Linked DNA regions of Homo sapiens: region 1 is linked to region 2. The links are contacts of gene promoters, found by promoter capture Hi-C in blood cells and fetal thymus (Javierre and others, 2016). All regions are on one chromosome and are shown on one strand. The core of a region is centred on a gene start or on the middle of the fragment in contact, and the rest is flanking DNA. Distances in the headings are between cores, read along the strand shown. Region 1 holds the start of LDHAL6A (lactate dehydrogenase A like 6A). Region 2 holds the start of SAA4 (serum amyloid A4, constitutive).

The links. The method cuts DNA at HindIII sites, captures the fragments that hold promoters and counts their contacts. A CHiCAGO score of 5 or more calls a contact.
Region 1: the fragment with the promoter of LDHAL6A here is called in contact with the fragment with the promoter of SAA4 in region 2 in 8 of 17 cell types (M2 macrophages, naive CD8 T cells, total CD4 T cells and 5 more); the score reaches 8.2 in M2 macrophages.

What each region holds. Positions count from the first base shown.
Region 1 is chr11:18,454,138-18,457,308 of GRCh38, reverse strand. It overlaps LDHAL6A (lactate dehydrogenase A like 6A), which reads right to left and starts at 1,453. Exons shown (of 7, transcript NM_144972.5): 1 at 503-1,453. The coding sequence starts at 628. The HindIII fragment of the contact is 8,824 bases long and covers 1-3,171 here.
Region 2 is chr11:18,234,907-18,238,071 of GRCh38, reverse strand. SAA4 (serum amyloid A4, constitutive) reads left to right here and starts at 1,270. Exons shown (of 4, transcript NM_006512.4): 1 at 1,270-1,355; 2 at 2,142-2,236. The coding sequence starts at 2,146. It overlaps SAA2-SAA4 (SAA2-SAA4 readthrough), which reads left to right. Exons shown (of 6, transcript NM_001199744.2): 4 at 2,142-2,236. The HindIII fragment of the contact is 10,895 bases long and covers 1-3,165 here.

The DNA.
Region 1 (3,171 bases), core at 204-2,703, 220 kb before region 2:
TATCAGCTGTATCAATACTAAGAACAGCTAAACACTAAAACTAACCTAACATGAATAAGGAACGAAGGGAAATAAAGATATACAGACTAGGAAATGGGAGAGAGATATTTAAATGAAAAAAGATTATTGTATTTGGTACTCGTAGGCTGCCTACCATCACTGACACGCTTGTATACTCTTTTCTGCCACCTATTTCTCTCCAGTTTGTTTTGTGAGCTGAGTTTCCAAATCAAGCAAAGGGGTACCTCATATTGTCATTACGTGAAAGTGAAATGTCAACATACTTTCACAGAGATGCTTCTAACCCACATGATATCATCATACAATTTTTAAAAAGGAGCGCCCTCTGGGTGAACAACTAAAAAAAGGGCACCTTTTCCTCTGATGCCCCTCACACTGGCTCCCCACTCACCACCTTGAACTGGACACAACCTCCACAACCATACGCTGTGGCCTCGCCTCCAACTGAGGTGAACCCTGTGGTGCAGAGCACACAACTTACTTTTAATAAGATGCTGATAGCACAAGCCACACCAACCGATCCAGTTCCTACAATGGAGATCTTATTGTGATGAATGGCCTCCTCTTCCGCGAAATTCTTAATAAGTTCACTCTTGATAGTTGCCATCTTGGAAACCTAACAGTGAAGACAAATTGCACAGCCATTTCCAAGACCTGGAATTGGAAATGGCTTGGAATTCCAAGACCTGCGGTGAGAGCGCGTATAGAGAACTCCTGGGCCCGTGTGGAAGGAGGTGCTGCAGACACACAAAAGACCGACAAATCTGACCAGCAAAGAAGCTGGGTAGGTTCTGGCCAGGCAGCTCAGCATCCATGAAGCGGACCAGGGGAAGGAGAAGGAAGCGTGAGTACAGTTAAGAGGAATTAAGAGAGAGAGAGAGGAAAGGAACAGGGGTTGCTCCACCAAACATGAAACTACAGCTGGGACGGCACTCCGTCCCGCAGCTGACCCCCTTTTCTCTCCCCTTTACCCTGCTGTTCCCCCAACCTCCAGTTCTCAGCTCCAGGACTGCGCCCGGGGTCCGCAGGTCCAGGTGAGAGGTACTTCTGGCCACACTCACAGGGGTGAAGGGCCACCCGCGCCCGAGCAGGTCACATGCCGCCTGGCGGAGACACAGAACCATCCTTGGGCAAAAACAATTCGCTCCCGCGGCGCCCGCTCTCTGGCTGCTCCCCAGGACTCTTGCAGCCCAGCTCATGGCCACTCACTCAAGAGGTGAAGAAAGAGAATGGAGGAAAATGGCGTTAAAGCTCATCGAGGCACGAAGGAGATGAACCGCCGACTAACAGACGCCGGGTCGCCCCCTTACTGCAGCTGCGCGGACCGCACCCAGCTCGTGCAGGCATCGCAGGTGTGATGCTTGGCAGGTGTGATGCTTGGCAGGTGTGATGCTTGGCAGGTGTGATGCTTGGCAGGTGTGAGGCCGGAAGCGGGCTGCGAAGCACCGCGCCTGCGCCTCTGCCTGCCCGCCCCGCCCCCGCGTGCGGGTGGGCGGGCTGCGGTGTAGGTGGTTGGCCGGCTGCAGAAGGCGCACGAGGTGCTGCAGGCACAACGCAGTGCAGGGCCTCTGCTGTTGGGCGGAGTTGTTTGCCTAGAACCCATCCACCAGAGAGCCCAAGTAATTTTATTTCTAACCAAACCTTGTCTGGATGTATCTGAAAAGGACTGTTTGACTCTCACGTGAAAATTTTCCCCCAGCCCTGTAGGAGAAAGGGACCTCAAGATTAACTTTTACCACCTCAAATGTGAGCTAAAGTAGAAAAAGTAAAATTTTAAAACTCTGGGCCGAGCGTGGTGGCTCACGCCTGTAATCCCAGCACTCTGGAAGGCCAAGGCGGGCGGATCACCTGAGGTCAGGGGTTCGAAATCAGCCTGGCCAACATCGTGAAACCACGTTTCTACTAAAAATACAAAAATTAGCTGGACGTGGTGGTGCACCCCTGTAATCCCAGCTACCTGGGAGGCTGAAGCACAAGAATTGTTTGTGAACCTGGGAGGCGGAGGTTGCAGTAAGCCGAAATTGTGCCACTGCACTCCAGCCTGGGTGACGGAGTGAGACCCTGTCTCAAAACAACAACAAAACTCTGTATGCAAAAGGAATTTGGAAATAAGATATGAAACCTGAAGAATTTGATGAATGCAGTGCCAATTGATAACCATTTTTACAAGATGAAGGGAAAGCTCAATTCATTATTAAGTGGTTAAATGTAGAATCCACACTTTGGGAGGCCGAGGCGGGTGGATTAGCTGAGGTCAGGAGTTCGAGACCAGCCTGGCCAACATGGCGAAACCCCGTCTCTACTAAAAATACAAAAATTAGCCGGGTGTGGTGGCACGCACCTGTAATCCCAGCTACTCAGGAGGCTGGGGCAGGAGAATCGTTTGAACCCGGGAGGCGGAGGTTTTGGTGAGCCGAGATCATGCCACTGCCCTCCAGCCTGGGTGACAGAGTGAGACTCCGTCTCAAAAATAAAAAACAAAAATGTAGAATTGAAAATCAGTCTGGAATAAACCAAGGTTTCTACTTCTCCCACCACATTTTACCTAATTGTTTTCTCATTTGTGAATCATAATACGTAATTTTGATGGTTAATACTGAGTGTCAACTTGATTGGATTGAAGGATGCAAAGTGTTGAACCTGGGTGTGTCTGTGAGGGTGTTGCCACAGGAAATTAACATTTGAGTCAGTAGGCTAGAAGACGCAAACCCACCCTCTATCCGGGTGAGCACCATCTAGTCAGCTGCCAGCACGTCTAGGATAAAAGCAGGCAGAGGAACGTGGAGGGACTAGACTGGCTAAGTCTTCCAGCCTTCATCTTTCTCCTGTGCTGGATGCTTCCTGCCCTCAAACATTGGACTCCTAGTTCTTCAGCTTTGGAACTCCGACTGACTTTCTTGCTTCTCAGCTTGCAGACGGCCTATTGTTGTGGGACCTCACCTTGTGATTGTGTGAGTCAATACTCCTCAATAAACTCCCCTTTATATATATAGCTATCCTATTCGTTCTGTCCCTCTAGAGAACCCTAATACAGTAATACATATTGACAAATTTTTATAAAATGTAGAGCAGTGTTTCTCAATCTTTTTTCATTATCACTCCCTCAAGAGTCTTTGTAGATATGTTCCCCCTAATTGTTTTGCACCCCCA
Region 2 (3,165 bases), core at 21-2,520:
GTATACTGTGTGAGAGACAATGTGGAACCAAGTTCTTTCACTCATTTCTGGTGGGAGTAGAGATTGATACAGCCCTCATGGAAGGCAATTTGCAACATATAAAAATTTATAAAATCTAGGGCCAGGGACGTTGGCTCATGCCTGTAATCCTAGCACTTTGGGAAGCCGAGGTGGGCAGATCATTTGAGGTAAGTGGGTCGAGACTAGCCTGGCCAACATGGCGAAATCCCGTCTCTCTTAAAAATAGAAAAATTAGCCTGATGTGGTGGCATGTGCCTATAATCCCAGCTACTCAAGAGGCCGAGGCAGGGGAATCTCTTGAACCCCGGAGGTGGAGGTTGCAGTGAGCTGAGATCATGCCACTGCACTCCAGCCTGGGGGACAGAGTGAGACTCTGTCTCAAACAAACAAACAAAAAATTTATAAAATCTGATACTTTTTCACCATGGAGTTTCTTCTGTAGGAATTTATCCTAGAGATATATTTGTACATGTGCAAGAGACATATGTACAAGGTTAATAAATGCACCATTATTTGTAATATCAAAAGGTTAATAACTGTCAAAACAGCCATTAATATTGTATAAATTATGGTCCATCCATGCAATGGAATACTGTGTAGCTGTAAAAAAAAAAAAAAAAAAAGCAACAAGCCCGACATGGAAAGACTTCCAATAAATAGTAAGTTTAAAAGAAAGTGCAGAATAATACATATTTATATGAAAAAAGAGTTTTTATGCCTCAAAGGCCTTCACCCTTGATCTTCTGGTGTTATTCCTGTCCTTGTATTCTCCCAGAATCATTACCTCATCCCATGAATGGTACAGTCAAGTCTTGCTTGTTCTGTGTCCTTACATTCTTTAGAGAGAAGTCACAAGAGACAAGCAAACATCTCTTTTGCTAATAATATTGATCACTTCCTACAGCATAATATCTATGTGCAATTTTTTGGGAAGACCTCCTACTAAACAGTTAAGAATGGAAAGACACAAAGAGAAGAAAGTGGAGAAAGACCTCTGTCTTCCCACACTGGATTTTGCAAATACAACTCTTCTGTGATACAGGAAACTAAAAAGAGGGAAAAGTGGCAATTAAGAAAAACTGCCAGAAAATAAATACCTTGATGACCCAATTTGGAAAACTACTTCTAGATAAGGAAACACTATTACCCAATATGTTAATTTTTAAAATACCCAAAGAATTGAGCAAAAAGGACTTTGGCAAGGCAGGTTGTTGGATTTAAAACCGTTCTCCCATTAATGCCAAAGCCAGCAGAGGTACCAACTATAGCTCCACGGCCAGAAGATACCAGCAGCTCTGCCTTTACTGAAATTTCATCTGGAGAAAGGTCCACAGGTGAGGTTTCTTCCAAGGAGTAATTTCTCTTATTTGACTCTTTTGAGATCCTTTTCTCACATAATTGTCAAATTTCAATTGGAGAGAAACTGTGTTTTCTACCTCATTACGGGGTCAGTGCTGAGGAGAGTAGGAACTCAGGAAATGCTTCTTGATTGACTTTAGTCTGCTGTATTGGGTGACAAATTGACCACAGACCAAATAACACGTTGGAATCCTCTTATTCTTTCTAGAGATCTGGGCTGAGAATTAAGGGTTTATGCTTCTTCTTAAAACCCGTTTCAATCTTTCATGCAGTTATGATTCTCATACAAACAAATGGAAATGGGGAATTAGTCTTTCAAATTCAGTCCTTTGGCTGGCACAGTGGCTCATGCCTGTAATCCTTTGGGAGGTTGAGGTAGGAAGATTGCTTGAGGCCAGGAGTTCGAGACTAGCCTGGGCCGAACATACATACCAAGACCTTGTCTCTACCAAAAAAAAAAAAAAAAAAATTAGCTGAGTGTGATGGTGCACGTTTGTAGTCCTTAATACTCAGGAGGCTGAGGTGGGAGGATCACTTGAGCCCAGAAGGTCGAGGCTGCAGTAAGCCTTAATCATATCATTGCACTTTAGCCTGGGCAATAGGAAAAAAAAAAGAAAGAAAGAAAGGGAGGAAAGAAAGAAAGGAAGGAGAAAGAAAGAAAAGGAAAAAAAGAAAGAAAAAAAGGAAAGAAATTCAGTCCTCAAAACATAGATCTGTGTTTTTTTTTATGATCCTCTGCCCCTGTCTTTCTTTCTCTTCAGCACAATGAGGCTTTTCACAGGCATTGTTTTCTGCTCCTTGGTCATGGGAGTCACCAGTGAAAGCTGGCGTTCGTTTTTCAAGGAGGCTCTCCAAGGTAAGAACTCTGGAGGATGGAGGGCACATACCCAGGATTCATTCTGAGCAGGGGCCACATACTCACTGGATGTGAGTGCTCCTTAGAGAAGCCACACAGAGGTCAGAGCAGGAGTGTGGTTTTCTGTATCTGTTTCTTCCTCTAGGCTGGTCTGATTTATCACCCTCCCTTGGGGTTTCCAGACGAGAGGTTAAAGATGCTTTGGGCCCAGCCTGTACTCTTGGTGTAGAGTGCAGAAGGATAAAAACTTCCAGGGGGTTATCTCCCACTGCGGAAATTTACAGATGGCAGATTTCTCAGGGCATGATGTTTATTTAGCTCATCCACCTCAGGGAATATACTGAGTTCACAATTATACTCCAAGACTGAGACATGCCTAGCAGAGAGTAGAGAAATCCCATCCTGTACCCAAGCAAATGGCCAATGCTTGGGATGCAGAGCTTATGAAAATTAAGCCCTAACTTCTATCCATAAATAAAAAGAGCAAATTTCTACTGATTAGCCACAGGAGGGCTGAGATACGGCTGGGAAACTGACTTCTGCCATTCTGGATGGGAAACGAATCTTATTGACTAGCTGTTAAAATGGGAAAACTATGTTTGTCAGGTTATGCAATACTTTGAACTTCATGTGTTGTTATTAATTTTGTAGTTGAATTTTTTGTAATTTTTCAATTGAAATTTTATAAATTTTCATTTTTTCTGCATTTTGTGCTTTTAAAAATGATATTCTATAAATAGTTTTTAAAAAGTTTTGGTAGCATGTACTAAGTTTTTCTGCACATAGTAGAGAATATCTTTTCCCTTAGGTCAGTGTATTTCAGAATTTGTTGTATGGTCCACCAGCATTTAAATCGGCCGGTGTTTGTTTTAAAAGTACACTCTGAAGCCTCTTCTCATAGTTACTGAGTCAGAATCTTAGAAGTGAAG